Linked DNA regions of Homo sapiens: all the other regions are linked to region 2. Evidence: promoter capture Hi-C in 16 types of primary human blood cells and fetal thymus (Javierre and others, 2016). All regions are on one chromosome and are shown on one strand. Each heading gives the region's core, a stretch centred on a gene start or on the middle of the fragment in contact. The rest is flanking DNA. Distances are from core to core; before and after follow the strand shown. Region 1 overlaps SGPL1 (sphingosine-1-phosphate lyase 1). Region 2 holds the start of PALD1 (phosphatase domain containing paladin 1). Region 3 overlaps ADAMTS14 (ADAM metallopeptidase with thrombospondin type 1 motif 14). Region 4 has its middle 9.3 kb from the start of SGPL1. Region 5 overlaps SGPL1 (sphingosine-1-phosphate lyase 1).

What was found. Contacts are between HindIII fragments. The CHiCAGO score rates a contact against its expected background, and 5 or more counts as called.
Region 1: a contact is called between a fragment that was not itself captured here and the fragment with the promoter of PALD1 in region 2, in 2 of 17 cell types (total B cells and naive CD4 T cells). The highest score is 5.7, in total B cells.
Region 3: a fragment that was not itself captured here is called in contact with the fragment with the promoter of PALD1 in region 2 in 3 of 17 cell types (naive CD4 T cells, naive B cells and endothelial precursors); the score reaches 7.0 in naive CD4 T cells.
Region 4: a fragment that was not itself captured here is called in contact with the fragment with the promoter of PALD1 in region 2 in 2 of 17 cell types (total CD8 T cells and naive CD8 T cells); the score reaches 5.8 in total CD8 T cells.
Region 5: a contact is called between a fragment that was not itself captured here and the fragment with the promoter of PALD1 in region 2, in 1 of 17 cell types (total CD8 T cells). The highest score is 5.3, in total CD8 T cells.

The regions. Positions count from the first base shown.
Region 1 is chr10:70,853,883-70,856,582 of GRCh38, reverse strand. It overlaps SGPL1 (sphingosine-1-phosphate lyase 1), which reads right to left. Exons shown (of 15, transcript NM_003901.4): 5 at 1,728-1,875. Among named protein-coding and RNA genes, the nearest start is that of PCBD1, 33 kb to the left of the region's middle. The HindIII fragment of the contact is 936 bases long and covers 860-1,795 here.
Region 2 is chr10:70,477,517-70,480,216 of GRCh38, reverse strand. It overlaps PALD1 (phosphatase domain containing paladin 1), which reads right to left and starts at 1,450. Exons shown (of 20, transcript NM_014431.3): 1 at 1,158-1,450. RefSeq lists an enhancer at 1-120 and silencers at 1,115-1,564, 1,765-1,834. The HindIII fragment of the contact is 7,738 bases long and covers 511-2,700 here.
Region 3 is chr10:70,754,130-70,756,829 of GRCh38, reverse strand. All of the region lies in intron 19 of ADAMTS14 (ADAM metallopeptidase with thrombospondin type 1 motif 14), which reads right to left. Among named protein-coding and RNA genes, the nearest start is that of TBATA, 30 kb to the left of the region's middle. RefSeq lists an enhancer at 1-195. The HindIII fragment of the contact is 2,438 bases long and covers 182-2,619 here.
Region 4 is chr10:70,805,252-70,807,951 of GRCh38, reverse strand. No RefSeq gene overlaps it. Among named protein-coding and RNA genes, the nearest start is that of SGPL1, 9.3 kb to the left of the region's middle. The HindIII fragment of the contact is 1,332 bases long and covers 779-2,110 here.
Region 5 is chr10:70,832,297-70,834,996 of GRCh38, reverse strand. All of the region lies in intron 2 of SGPL1 (sphingosine-1-phosphate lyase 1), which reads right to left. Among named protein-coding and RNA genes, the nearest start is that of SGPL1, 18 kb to the right of the region's middle. The HindIII fragment of the contact is 738 bases long and covers 968-1,705 here.

The DNA.
Region 1 (2,700 bases), core at 78-2,577, 380 kb before region 2:
GCTTCAGACCAGTGGTCACCAGCCTTTCAAAAATAAGATAACTGGTTTCATTTCCTGTTCTTTTACTGATGCTAGAGAATACAGCAATGGACAGTGACTTAAACATTAAAGAGAAGGCAATATGATGGCGGCAACCAGGTCTCATAATCATGGAAATCTTTAACACCAGGTTTTAGAGTGCTAACCACTGCTTTATTCATCTACATCCTAGACTATATCAAATTTTGTACTATTCAATGTCAAGACCTCAACACATGTCACTTAGAAATTGTAAGGGTATTTGTCAAGGCCGAGCACAGTGGCTCACACCTGTAATCCTAGCACTTTGGGAGGCCAAGGTGGGCAGATCACCTGAGTTCAGGAGTTCGAGACCAACCTGGGCAACATGGTGAAATCTTATCTCTACTAAAAACACAAAAAATTAGCTGGGTATGGTGCCGCACGCCTGTAATCTCAGCTACTTGGGAGGCTGAGGCACGAGAATTGCTTAAGCCTGGAAGGTGGAAGTTGCAGTGAGCTGAGATCACACCACTGCATTCCAGCCTGGGCAACACAGTGAGACTCTGTCTCAAAAAATAAAAAATAAGGGTATTTGTCAAAATGCAACATGGCTCCTGGTTGGCTCCTAGAATAGAAAAAAGAACATTAGTTTAAAACAAAACATAGCAAAACAAAAAAAAACCCTGATGAACTAGAAATAGAATTTGTAGTGTAGTTAATAGCACTGTACCAATGTTAATTTTTTAGTTTTGATAAACGTACCATGGTTATAGAGGATGTTAACATCAGGAGAAGCTGGGTATAGGGAAATCTCTATCATCTTTGCTACTTTTCTGTAAATATATCAAACTAAAAAGCTTCTTTTTAAAAAGTACTTGTAATATGATCTTAATCAGTAACAAACATAAATCTGTTTGAGTTAATAATAGCAATAATGTTTAACATTTACTGAATCCTTACTATATGCCAGGCACTATAAAACATTTATACATGTATGATCTCATTTAATCCCCATAATCATCTTTTCAGGTAAGTACTGTACTACTATTACTATCCCCATTGTAGAGATACAGGAACTGTGACATACAGAAGTAACTCGCCAAAGGCATACTTTAAGTGGCAAACCAAGGTATGAATCCAGGCTGGTTCCAGGGTTACGCTCTTAAGCACCAAGCTATTTGGTCTATTTATCCATCCCATATGTGCTCATGCATACATGTGTATACACACAGACAAACACTATTAGCATTCTCAGAAACAGACAGATATACATATATAGATAGATGTAAACTATATAGACAGCTCTACCTATAGCTACATGCATAAAGATAGACACCATCTGTTTATCTTTGATAGTGGAATTATAGTGACTTATTTTCTTTTGTGCCTTTATGCAGATTTCACATTTTTACATGGATCTGTATTTCATTTGTATTACATATCTTATATTCTCTCTTCTTAAACACAAATATATTTGTTTTATTCATGCTTACAAAAGGAAATAAAAGCCAAGTTCCACTGTCTCTGAGATTTGCTTGCTTTATGGATGAAGGATGAATCTAAACATAATTTTAAAAATAGGAAATTCAACCTGTGAAACAGAGAGTAGGCCCTCCTAAACATGTATTAACCAATGATGAGTTATTCTTAACCTATGTGAACATTAAACAATGACAAAACCTGTCTCTTTAAGGAAGTAGAGAGCATGTATATGCCAAGCATCATACCCATAGAGCTGTACTCCTTAAGTTTCTCCAAAACAGCAGATGAGCTCAGACCCTGGGAGGGTAAAGCTTTCACATACTCTTTGTCCACTTTCAGGAATGACATGTTCTTGCTAATATCATCCTTGGTCTTGTTCAACTTGTCTTGAATCTCCAAAGGTAAGAAAGACAAAGTTATCCAGATGCAAGAGTACAGTAGAGACAGCAGAATTATTATGACAGTCAAGCAACTGCTCAATGCTAGGCACCGCACAAGTAACTAAACTAACATTTTTCCTAAAGATATATGGTGATATTCTGACTGATCAGCTACTTTCTGGCATGTACAATAGCCTCTTAAAAATTTGAAAAGCGAAGCTTCTCTCTAAAGGTCAAGATGCACTCAGCCGGTCGCGGTGGCTTACACCTATTATCACAGCTCTTCAGGAAGCCGAGGTGGGCAGATCATTACAGGTCAGGAGTTCGAGACCAGCCTGGCCAACATGGTGAAACCCCATCTCTACTAAAAATACAAAAATTAGCCAGGCATGGTAGCAGGCATTTGTAATCCCAGCTACTTGGGAGGCTGAGGCATGAGAATCACTTGAACCCAGGAGGTGGAGGTTGCAGTGAGCCAAGATCACACCACTGTACTCCATTCAGCCTGGGCAACAGAGCAAGACTCTGTCTCAAAAAAAAAAAAAAAAAAGTTGCACCCAATTTCCCCATAACCCTTTTCTCTGCCACATTGACATCACTGCTGCTTCACTTGGTTGGCATTGCTAAAGTCAGCACATCCTTGAGGGCAGTATTTGGACTTTGATCCTGCCTTGGCAGCAGCTACAGTGTGTGTGTAAAAGAATCAAAGGTATAACTAGGAACAGTGGCCAGAAAACTGGCCATGCTGCAGTAAAAGTGATTCTGGTCCTTGTGCAAGTGATGAGCTCCTTCAACAGACATACACGCAGCACACTAGGAATTTGGAGGTCCCATTCAA
Region 2 (2,700 bases), core at 201-2,700:
AGCAGGAAACAAACAAACCTGGGAGTGGGTGGGGATGAGTGCAGGAGAACCTCCTCAGCGCCCCTGCTGCTCCCTGCCCTTGGAGCAAGGTAATAAGGAAGGGCGGGCATGGAGCTGGAACATTTCAGCACATTTGCTTGCTTGCATGGAACTGGATCTCTGCTGCCCTGGCACTCTCGCAGCCTACATTACTCACATAGCAATTAATGGTGTGTAGCCTCTTGGCTTTCCACTATTACCAGTTCAGGACTGGTATTGAAACCCTGTATCGGGGAACTTTGTGTGTTTATGTCCTGTCTTGCCCCCAGGGGCTGAGCCTCCTGAGGACAGAATCCTCCAAATCCTCCTCCATCCACACATTCCAGGGGCACGGCCCAGTGCCCTTCCTGGCATTTAAGAGGTGCTCGGCCACTGGGTTCAGGTTACTCTACCCAGAAGCCAAGGAGTTGGTTCCTGGGCCTCTGGCTGGGAGAGTAGAGATGCCCAGAAGATTCCCTGGGCCATGAAGCTTTACTCCCATCTCTGACAACCCAAGAGAAAGGGCTCCAACCATCCCGGCCACCTTCAGGAGCCGGGTCTCCCATAGGCCACTCTCTCTCTGACAGGTTACTGCCCCTTCAGGAAAACCCTCTGAAACTGAAAAACGTACTCTCCTTGGAGACCCGGGCCTACAGAGGAAGAGGGCCAGACTGGGCCAAGAATCAAAGCCTGTGCCCGCTGAGACTTCTGGACTCGTCCTGGGTCTGAGGGCCTCACGCCCCCTAGAGATGAGTCCCAGGACCCCATCTCGGTCATGAAGCGGCTTCCCTCTCCCCAATCTCCCCCTAACTTCGCGGGAAACCCTAGCTCCTGGCCATGCTCCCAGGTCTGGCAATGAAAAGTGGAATTGTCACCAGGCCATGCCTACACCAAACCCAGGGAACTCGGGAGAGGGGGTAGCCCAGGGTCCAACACACACAACCACCCAGCAACTGCTCCCTGTGAGTCCCTCTTGCCTCCCAGGGACCAATCCTGAGCGGGTGTGGGGTGAAGGCCCAGGACCTCACCTCTCCAAAGGATGGGGAGTTGGTGTCTGGAGCAGCCTCGGGCTGGGGGGTGCCCGGGGGATTCCAGATTTGCCCTCCCCTCGCCAGCCCCAGGGCAGGACACTTCGGTACCTGCCAGCCCGCGGCTCCGGGGGGCATCCGTGCTCCTGCGGCCGGCGTGCTGCGCCCGAACTGCGGGCGCCGAGTCAGGCAGCGACGGGGCGCGCCCGGCGCGCGCTCTGGCTCCAGCTCGCTCCTCCCAACTTCGCCAGCCCATGCGGGGGCAGAGGTGGCTCCGGAGGTGGGCAGGCCAGGCGGACCCGGCGAGGCCACGCGAGAGGGAGCCCGTGCTCACCGGCGACGGGACCTGCGCGCCCCGGCCCGTGCGCGCCGCGCTGCTCCCCAGCGCCCCGCTACCCAACGCCGAGGGGCGGACCCGACCCGGCCGCCAATCACCGCGCCCGCCCCCGCCCGGACCGCGAGTCCCGGCCCCACCGCGAGGGGCGGGGGGCTCAGATTTAAAGACACACTCAGCCCAGCCGCAGCCCCCGGGCGGGAGGAACGCGGGCGCCACGTTCCCCGGCTGCGCTTCCTCCCTCCGCCCGCCCACCCTCCGCGAGGAGGAAAAGTTTGGGGCGGGGGAGACTGCCCGGGAAGCCAGTTCCTCTTCCCTCGTCGCTAGTGCGGCTCCTTCTGGAAGACACCCAAACCCGACATCCAGCCTCCTGGCTGCGAGAGGCAGCAGCGCTCTGGGCGCCACACCCCGTCCCGGACGCCGGCTACCCGCGACACCCGCTGGCCCGGCTTCCCTCGCCCCCCTCTGCTTTACAGCCAGGCCGAGCCTCGGCGGGACCGAGCCCAGCATCCGGGCTCCGGGCCGGCCTCGCTGTGCAGTGCGGCCGGAGCTGGATGATGGTGCGCTCTGCACTTTTGCCTCCCACGTGTCGAAGGGGAGCCCCTAAACAGCAGACGGTCCCCCCAAGCAGGGGCTTCTCCCACGCCCCGGGGTCCTAAGGAAACGCGCCCCTCGGCCCCCAGAGGTGAGAGGGGAACAGCAGAGCAGAGCTTTGGATGGAGAGGGGTCCCTCCGCCCCCACCCATCATGCGGCTCCAGGCAGTGACCCGCACCATAGGCCTGCCCCCCCCACCACTCCTCACCCCACACGCGCGGACTAGCACTAGGCGGCAGCCAGCCCGGCCCACTCCGACGGCCCCGCACGCCCCCGCGAGCACGTGGGTGAACGCACCCACGTGCGTGCGTTCACTCTTCGCTGTGCTTCCTCGCGGAGAGATAGGCTTTGTTGTGGTTGGTGAGTCACTTCCTCCCTCTCGCTGCTCCACACTCGGGAAATCCTTTTTTCTCACCTGTTACCACCTGCCTCACCCCCATTCAGGACTGGAGCTGGATTTCGGCGAGCTGGGGTTGCCCCAGGATGCAGGCAGTGTAGGCCCCACCTCTGTCAGGCTGGAGAGCGCTGGGCTGGGAGAGGGGAACACATTCCCCATGACCCCTAAGAATAACTGAAGACAAGAGAAATCACTCATTGTGGTGGTCTCACCATGTCCCTAGCACCTAGCTCTTAAGTGCCTCGCGAAGTTATAAGGTCGGTACTTTTCTGATCCCTATTTTAACAAATGAGGAAACAGGCCCAGGGAAGACTTGTCCTCAGCTCCA
Region 3 (2,700 bases), core at 151-2,650, 280 kb before region 2:
CAGGGCACCTAGCACCTGCTCCAAGAATTAAATTCTCCACTGGGCCAGCTGCTGAAACAGGCTGATGTAATTCCAAGACCAGTTTTACCTAGCAGCTGCTGAAACAACCTGCTGTGACTCCACGGCTAGTTTTCCATAGCACCATCACTCACCAGTCAGAGCTTGCCAGCTCCCAAAAGCTTGTCTAGTGCCAATGAGTTGGTGTTCAACACAATACATATCATGTCTCTTTCTAATAAAACCCCCAACCTTTCCTTTGTTCTTTGGACATACTGAAGACCACCCGGTCTCTGTGTATGCCTTGAATTGCAATTCTTACTTAATAAAAGTTAAATTTAGAGATTCATCTCTATATTTTGCTTATTGCGACAGGGCCAGTATCTTCCACTATCTGCCATCTCTCTGTTACTTTTATCTGTGGGGTCCTTTGAAGACCAGCAATCTGTTTTATATCAAAACAAATGAAGCTATATATTATGGAGACATATAAAATGCATGAGTTGTGTGTGGATTTTTGGTTCTTTACAAATATTCATAATGCAATATTTCAAAATACAGAAAAGTATGGAGTTATTCACAAAACCCTATCCAGATGCCACCACCAGCCTTAATAAATGAGCATCCCAGAATATTTTCAGATTGTGTTGTGTCCCTCTAAACATTAAGGAAATGACATCCATTGGAAGTGCTTTTTTACTTCATACTGAAGTACTTTTTCTCACCTAAATGTATTCTCTATAACAGAAGTTTATCTATTTTGGTAAGTACAGTTCAGGCCTGTTCATTTTTCTTGTTGTATAGTACTGTATTATATGAACAGACCATGATTTTTGTCCAATCTTCTATAGATAAACATTTGAGATACGTCCTAATGTTTTGCTGTTGCAATAAACAGCATTGTGATCAAATGAGGTTTTTTAAATTGGGGTAATATCTATATAACATAAAGTTTGCCATCTTAACTAATTTTTTCTTTTTTTGAGACAAAGTTTCGCTCTTGTCGCCCAGGCTGGAATACAATGGCGTGATCTTGGCTCACTGCAACCTCTGCCTCCCAGGTTCAAGCGATTCTCCTGCCTCAGCCTCCCGAGTAGCTGAGATTACAGGCATACGCCAGCCACCACACCCGGCTAATTTTTGCATTTTTAGTAGAGACGGGGTTTCACCATGTTGGCCAGACTGGTCTTGAACTCGTGACCCCAGGCAATCTGCCTGCCTTGGCTTCCCAAAGTGGTGGGATTACAGGCGTGAGCCACCGCGCCCAGCCCATCTTAACTATTTTTAAGTCTATGGTTCAGTGGCATTAAGCACATTCCCATTGTTGTACAATCATTACCACCATCTGTTTCCAGAACATTTTCTTCTTTCCCAACTGAAACTCCTCGCCTATTAAACACTAACCCCTCATTCACCCTCCAGCAGCCCCTGGAAATCACCAGCAAAGTGCCCTCATGGAGTGTTTGTCCTTACATGTCTGGATGTCTGGCTTATTTCTTTTCTTTTTTTTTTTTTTTTTGTGAGACAAGCTCTTGCTCTGTCACTCAGGCTGGAGTGCAGTGGCATGGTATGGTCATAGCTCACTGGAGCCTTGACCTCGTGGGCTCAAGCAATCTTCCTACCCTAGCCTCCAGAGCAGCTGGGATTACAAGCACACACCACCACGCCCAGCTAACTTTTTACATTTTTTGTAGAGGCGAGGTCTTGCTCTGTTGCCCAGGCTGGTCTCGAATTCCTGGGCTCAAGCAATCCACCCACATCAGCCTCCCAAAGATCTGCCCACCTCAGCCTCCCAAAGTGTTGGGATTCCAGGCATGAGCCACTGCATCCAGCTTGGCTTGTTTTACTTGGCATGATGTTCTCAATGTTCACATCAAATGAGTATTTAAAAGAAAACCCAAGACAATTTCGTCAAGGCAGTTTCCCGAAGGTGGCCTCCAGGGTCTGAGCCACAGAGCACCCAAATAACTAAGCAGCGCTACTGCTATCTCCCCTTCGCTACCCTGACTGTCTAACGCTCAACCTTCCACAGCACCGTCAGAGTGATCTTTACAACCTGAAATCAGAGCTTGTAATGCCCATGTTAAAAGGCTTCCCTGGTTTCCCATTGCTCTTAGAATATATGCAAACCCCTTGCAAAGCCCGTAGCCATGGACCCCCGCCTGCCTCCCCAGTGTTATCTCGCAGCCCCTATCCCTCCCAGTCAGCTCCAGCCCCACTGTCCTGTTGGCTTCTGGAACGTTGTAAAATTGTTCCTGACTTGGTCTCTTCCTGTGGCTTGTCCCTCTGGTCTCAGCTTGAGCAACACCTCCTCAGAGAAGCCCTCTGACCGCCCTCCATCCTCCACCACATCGACCCACTACTCCCCACCCAGCTCCGACTGCAGTCTGTCAGTGCTTGGCTGTGGGTTGATGGCCTAATACATTTCCCTCACAGGACTGTGGGCTGCACGAGGGCAAGAATCAGCTCTGTCTGGTTGATGCTAGGTTCCCTCATTCTTAGTACAAGGTCTGGCATACAGCTAGTGCTCAGCAAGTATTTCTGGAATGCAAGAGTGTACTTCAGTCTGCTCATCTGGAACACAGGGACATGAACCCATGCCTCCTGGCACTGTGTGAAGCTTACTGGCAGGAATGAATGAACCTAAAGGCCTAGCACAGAGCCACGGCCCAGGGTACGTAGGAGCTATTCTACTTTAAGGAA
Region 4 (2,700 bases), core at 195-2,694, 330 kb before region 2:
CCCTGGGGCAGAAATGAGGCTGATCATGACTTCTCTCTCTCCTCTAGGCGCTGCAGGCAGGGGCAACAGGCAGGTCCCTCTTTATTCTTAATCAACAACAGGAAATAGAAAGCCAGCATAATTCTGGATAAAAACAGCCCATAATTTTATAGGACTATGTGGTTTTCTTGTCGCAATGTGCATAATTTATCTTGTGACCACAATGTAACTCACTGAATCACCTCTGTTTGTTAATTCCATCTTTTTCCTCCCAAGATAGAAAGGGGGAAAAAAATCTCTAGTTGTATGGTATTGGTCAAGAGATCTAAAAGATCATAAAGTGTAATACGACCAAGGAACTCCCAGAACTTTGGGCAACTCATTCAGTTGTTTTGAAGATTTTTTAAAATTGGGATACATTGTATGTACAGACAAGTCCACAAATCAAAGTGTAGAGCTAGATGAATATTGACATAGTGAACACCATTGTTCAGCACCACCCAGATCAAGAAACAGAATGTCACCAGTTCAATTGTTTTTTAAATAAATGCAAATGCAGATGGCAATCCTCCTGTCTGAGACCTCCCAGTCCTGTAGGAAACAGTGTTTTGATCTTCATCCAAAGAGCAACAGCCGTTGAGGTCTTTTCAGTCAAGGGACTGACAATATCACATTTGTGTTTTAGAACAATCCGTCTGCGTGGTATGGAGAATGGCTAGGAGAGAATTCATATGGGCAGAAAAGGTACTCAGCAAAGAATGAAAATAGTTGGTTCTAGGGTACAACAATGGCATAAGCTTAGAAGACAGACCTTTGGAAAGTGACAGAACAGATTAAAACAAGACTCCCAAAGCCACAGGCTACCCTGTGCCTGGCAAGCAGGCTCCCACATGTGCCCTCAAGCCAAGATTCCCAGGGAAGAAGTCACATTCAGAGCTCAGGGCAAACTAACCCATAGCTAGTGGGCTACACCTTTAACTTGTTGCAGCTGGATTGCGGTACCTCTCCCTTAACCACAGGATTCTTTCTGACTTGAAGGTTGTTTGGCAGAAGTAACCAGTAGAGTAATTGTGTTCATGCTGATGCTATTTCAATTTATCCTAAGTGCTATGGGTTGAACTGTGTCCCCCAACAATCCATGTGGTGAATATGGCCTTACTGGAAAATAGGGTCATGGCAGATGTAATGAGTTAAGATGAAGTATTACTGGAATAGGGTGCACCCCTAGCCTAATATGACTGGTGTCCTTATAAAATGGGGCAATTTGGACAGACATGCATAGAGGGGGAGCACCATGTGAAAATGAAGGTAGCAATCAGAGTGATGACTTTATAAGCCAAAGACCATCAAAGGTTGCCAACAAACCACCAGTAGCTAGGAGAGGGCCATGAAACGTGTTTTTCCTCATAGCTCTCAGAAGGAACCAGCCCTGCCAACACCTTGATCTCAGACTTCTATCTTGCAGAAATGGGAGACAATCCATTTCTGTTGTGCAAGCCACCCAGTTTGTGGCACTTTGTTACAACAGCCTGATTAGCAAGCTAACACAAATAGATTCTCACGCTAGCCCCAAACCTCAGTAGGTTGGCAATGGAGGAATGGGAAGGGCAGGGTGACATGACCATTCTCAGTGGCCTCATGTGCCCACTGACCACCCAAGTGTTGGGGCAGTGGTGGGGACTTGGAAGCCTGCAGAGCCCTCCAATAGCTGCTGCCAACTGTCTTTCTGGGAGACAAAGCAGCCTCAAGCTAGTCCTTGTGGGTCTGCTTGAGGGCACTGCTACATTCAGTTTTAGGGTATAAACCCACACCTGCCACTTAGGGACAGCTGTTGCAGGAGGTGCTGCAGAGGAAACCACTCACTCAGACATATTTCAAATGCCCACTCTTGCTATCCACTATCCATTGAATTCAAGTGCGTCAAATGTTTAAACCATGTGCCCTGGCTGCCCATCCAAACATCTAACTCAACATTCCTAGCTACTGCATCATCTTAGAACAAACTCAACTCATTTCATTTGAATATTCATATGAATCCCTTCAATACAGACATCATACAAGTCCTTTAAAACAAACTGTTTATAGCTAGTAGCCATCTCCTGACCTCAGCTGTCCCCCTCCAGGGAAAGCTTACAAAGTTTCTAGTTGGGAACAGAAGGCCCTTTGGGACTTGCCCAATGTTGTCTCAGGACATGACCTCACAACAGTAAAAACAAGTCAAAACCCAAGGCCTACTGGCAGAGAATCAGTTAAAGGACAAGCATAACTAAGTCAGCAGAGGTTACCTGGGCCTCACCCCAGCCTACATGGAAAGCACTTACCTGGTAAGCGCTCCGTAAATGGTAGCCCATAGCAATAATCATCTGTCAGTGGCTGTATTGATCTATCTGTGAATCAGATCATATCTGGAGAAGATAACCTTGAAGGGAAAGACACCATAAGAAGCCCAGTTAACTGAATGCCTTTCTTGAACTTGGCCACAGTGACCTCTACGATCAGCCGCTGCTTCTCTCCACCTTCATCTCCCCCATTTCCACCTCACTCTCAGACTTTATGTCCCAACTATACTCACAGTGACTATCTGGGATACTTTTGAAACTAAGGACATATTATTAAGTTTTCTGGGACAACAAGCATAAATTGGTCTGTTCTAACAATCTGAGTCTTCTAGTCTCCCTAGCCATCTAGAACAACTTAGAGTTTCCATAACATGCCCTGGGC
Region 5 (2,700 bases), core at 87-2,586, 350 kb before region 2:
TGCACACCGTGGCACTCTGCCTACAAGTTCACAAGGTTCATCACATCATAGGCCATCAGAGCTGAACCTGTCCTTCACAGATGAAGACATTGAGGCCTACAGGTCACAAAGCTCGGAAATAGCGGAGCCAGGACTCAAATCTTCTGGTTTAAAATGCATTGTTTTTTCCACTGCCTAGTTTTCCAGAGCCAAACTATCAGTGGCACAAATCAGGAGACCAACAGTTCTCAAAGTCCTGTCAGCTAGTTTACTCCAAGAGCCAAAGGAAAGGCTCTCATCTTCACTACGCTCCCAGTGAAGGCATACAGAACTTCCAGATGACCTAACGGCATCCTACAAGGGCTGAGCATTTTGGGGAAGTGAACTGCTATTGCATGGCCTTTTCGAACTGCAAACTTCATTCTTCTCTGAGCTAGAGACTTACACTCATACTACTTATTTGCTTACAAAAGAAAGACGGAAAGAAATTAGTTTGAAAAGTACTTCAGAAAAGTTGTCTTCAAAATCATAAAATGCTACTGTCTGAAGGAACCTTAGAGACCACCTATAGTCCAATCTCATTGCAGTGATGAAGAAACTGAGGCCACAGACTAATACCAAAATGTGCCTTCCCTGGTTTCAAACTAGAGGCACAGCCCCCAAGAGAATCTATCTTCTTCTTCAATATTCTTTCCATAAAGCCAGTGGGGGTACATCAATATCATCCAAGAAGCATGATTCCTGGAACGAATCATCTTCTTGGGTCAGAATACCCCACCCACAGGGTCAGAGTACAGAATGTGTATTTTGTAAACCTCCCTCCGGTGATTCTGACAGGCAACACTGCTTAAGAATCCATTCTCTTCCCCATCCTTTTCTTTTATTAAAAGATGACCCAGTAGCTGACTTAACATATTACTGACACCCAATCACCAAACTTAATGGCTACCCGGTATTCACGCAGCAGGGAAAAGACATCCACGAAGCTTTCCTGGGAAGTGTTAAAAGTCAGGGCCCAGTCACGTCACTCTACTAGATATCAATTCATTGTTCCTGCCTAATATTTATTCTTTGGCCAGATACTAATAAAAATCAAAATCTTCTACCCCACAATCCTGCAAAGAAGACAGAATTTGTTATTTGTTTTCCTGAACTATTCAACGCTCAATACTTTTTCCAGAAGGACCATAAATCTGAGCTTTACAGCAGGAATGGGCTGTTGAGGAAAAGAAAAATCTGTTCTACCCAGTTCAAATGTTACTCTAAGGACTAAGCCTCAGCCTAGGGAGTGAAGTTAAAATACAGAAGAGACTCAGTTAGTATATTTATTCTTATCAGCTTCTGCCCCCCCACCAAAAAAAGAAAAGCCAGAAAGCAAAGCTAATTTAATCTGATTTTCTTTCATATTACAGTCTACAGAACTTCAAAGTGCAAGGTAAACAGGTAAGAAAATACTATTGTCTTTATAGCCTCCAAAAGCATTAAAGTTTATCATCAAAAACACATCACAACCCCAAAGGGAAAATCCTCTTGGGTCATTAAAGAAGTAAGAACTGAGCAACAAAACCAGACAGCCATTCCAAGCAACCAGTAGTGACTGTGAGAAACGTTTGAGGAAACTGAATCATCATTTCTTAGGAGACAAAAAGCAAACCACATACTTCCCCCAAAATTCCACTATGTGAGTCAAGAGATCCAGTATCTGAGAAGTTCGTCTCAAAAAGCTTAAGAGTCTACATTTTCCCTTCTAGCCTGGCCTTGCCAGATATGTACACTTGGTACCATTCCCCAAGCACCAACTGCTATACACTTAGCATGGGAGTATTCAGGCAAAGCATCTTTCCATCCCTGAAATAACAAAACCATCTTGGCCACAGAAAGAACACACATATGAAATGTTCCCAAGTCATCAGAAGTGCACTCATGGAAAACCACAGCTTCTAAGTTCCTAAAAGCTGAACCCGAAACACTGCTAAATGGTCACTTTATTAATGTACTTGTGGTCAGGACAAGGCATCAAGTAAAGGGAGATGCTGATTCTGTTAAGTAACAATTCTGAGCACCTCTCTTCTGAAATACATATTTAAAAGTATCAGGAGCAGCTTATACTAGGAGAGAAGACTAAATGCATAAAACTGAATTCAATAAGCAGAGGAACACACTGAAGGACACAGAGATAAGAGCAATTACCAGTTTTGTAGGAAAATAGACTCCCAGCCTAAGGCAAGTAGGTAAGATATGGGGGGAAAAATATGCAAATTTGCACATGGAATGTTGCTAAGTTTGCTATGAACTCTCAGAGTCTGACAATAAATAGCTAAATGACTTACTGTGCACATGTATACAGGTTATATTTCAAAGCACAAATGAGTTTCATCATTCTCTAAAACTAGAAATGATAATTTCTTGGATAATAAGCAAGATCTAGTGGAAAAGATCCCGTATTTCTCACACAGAAAGAAGTCTTAACTTCTCTGAGCATATCACGATTGGGGAAGGGCAGAGGTTAGCTGACTTCTCCAGTCCCATACTTATCTTACTAACAGAATTCTCTATCTTTGTCTGGGAGTTAAGACACTTAGACTTTTCATAACCATTTGTGGAAATTCCTTCCCTACAACAGTCATGCTGCTATTAGAGATGAGGAATACTGAATATTTGCTGAGAAGTGTAACCTAACTAAAGCTATTTCTCTAGAGATTTCCAACACGTAAGCCTGCT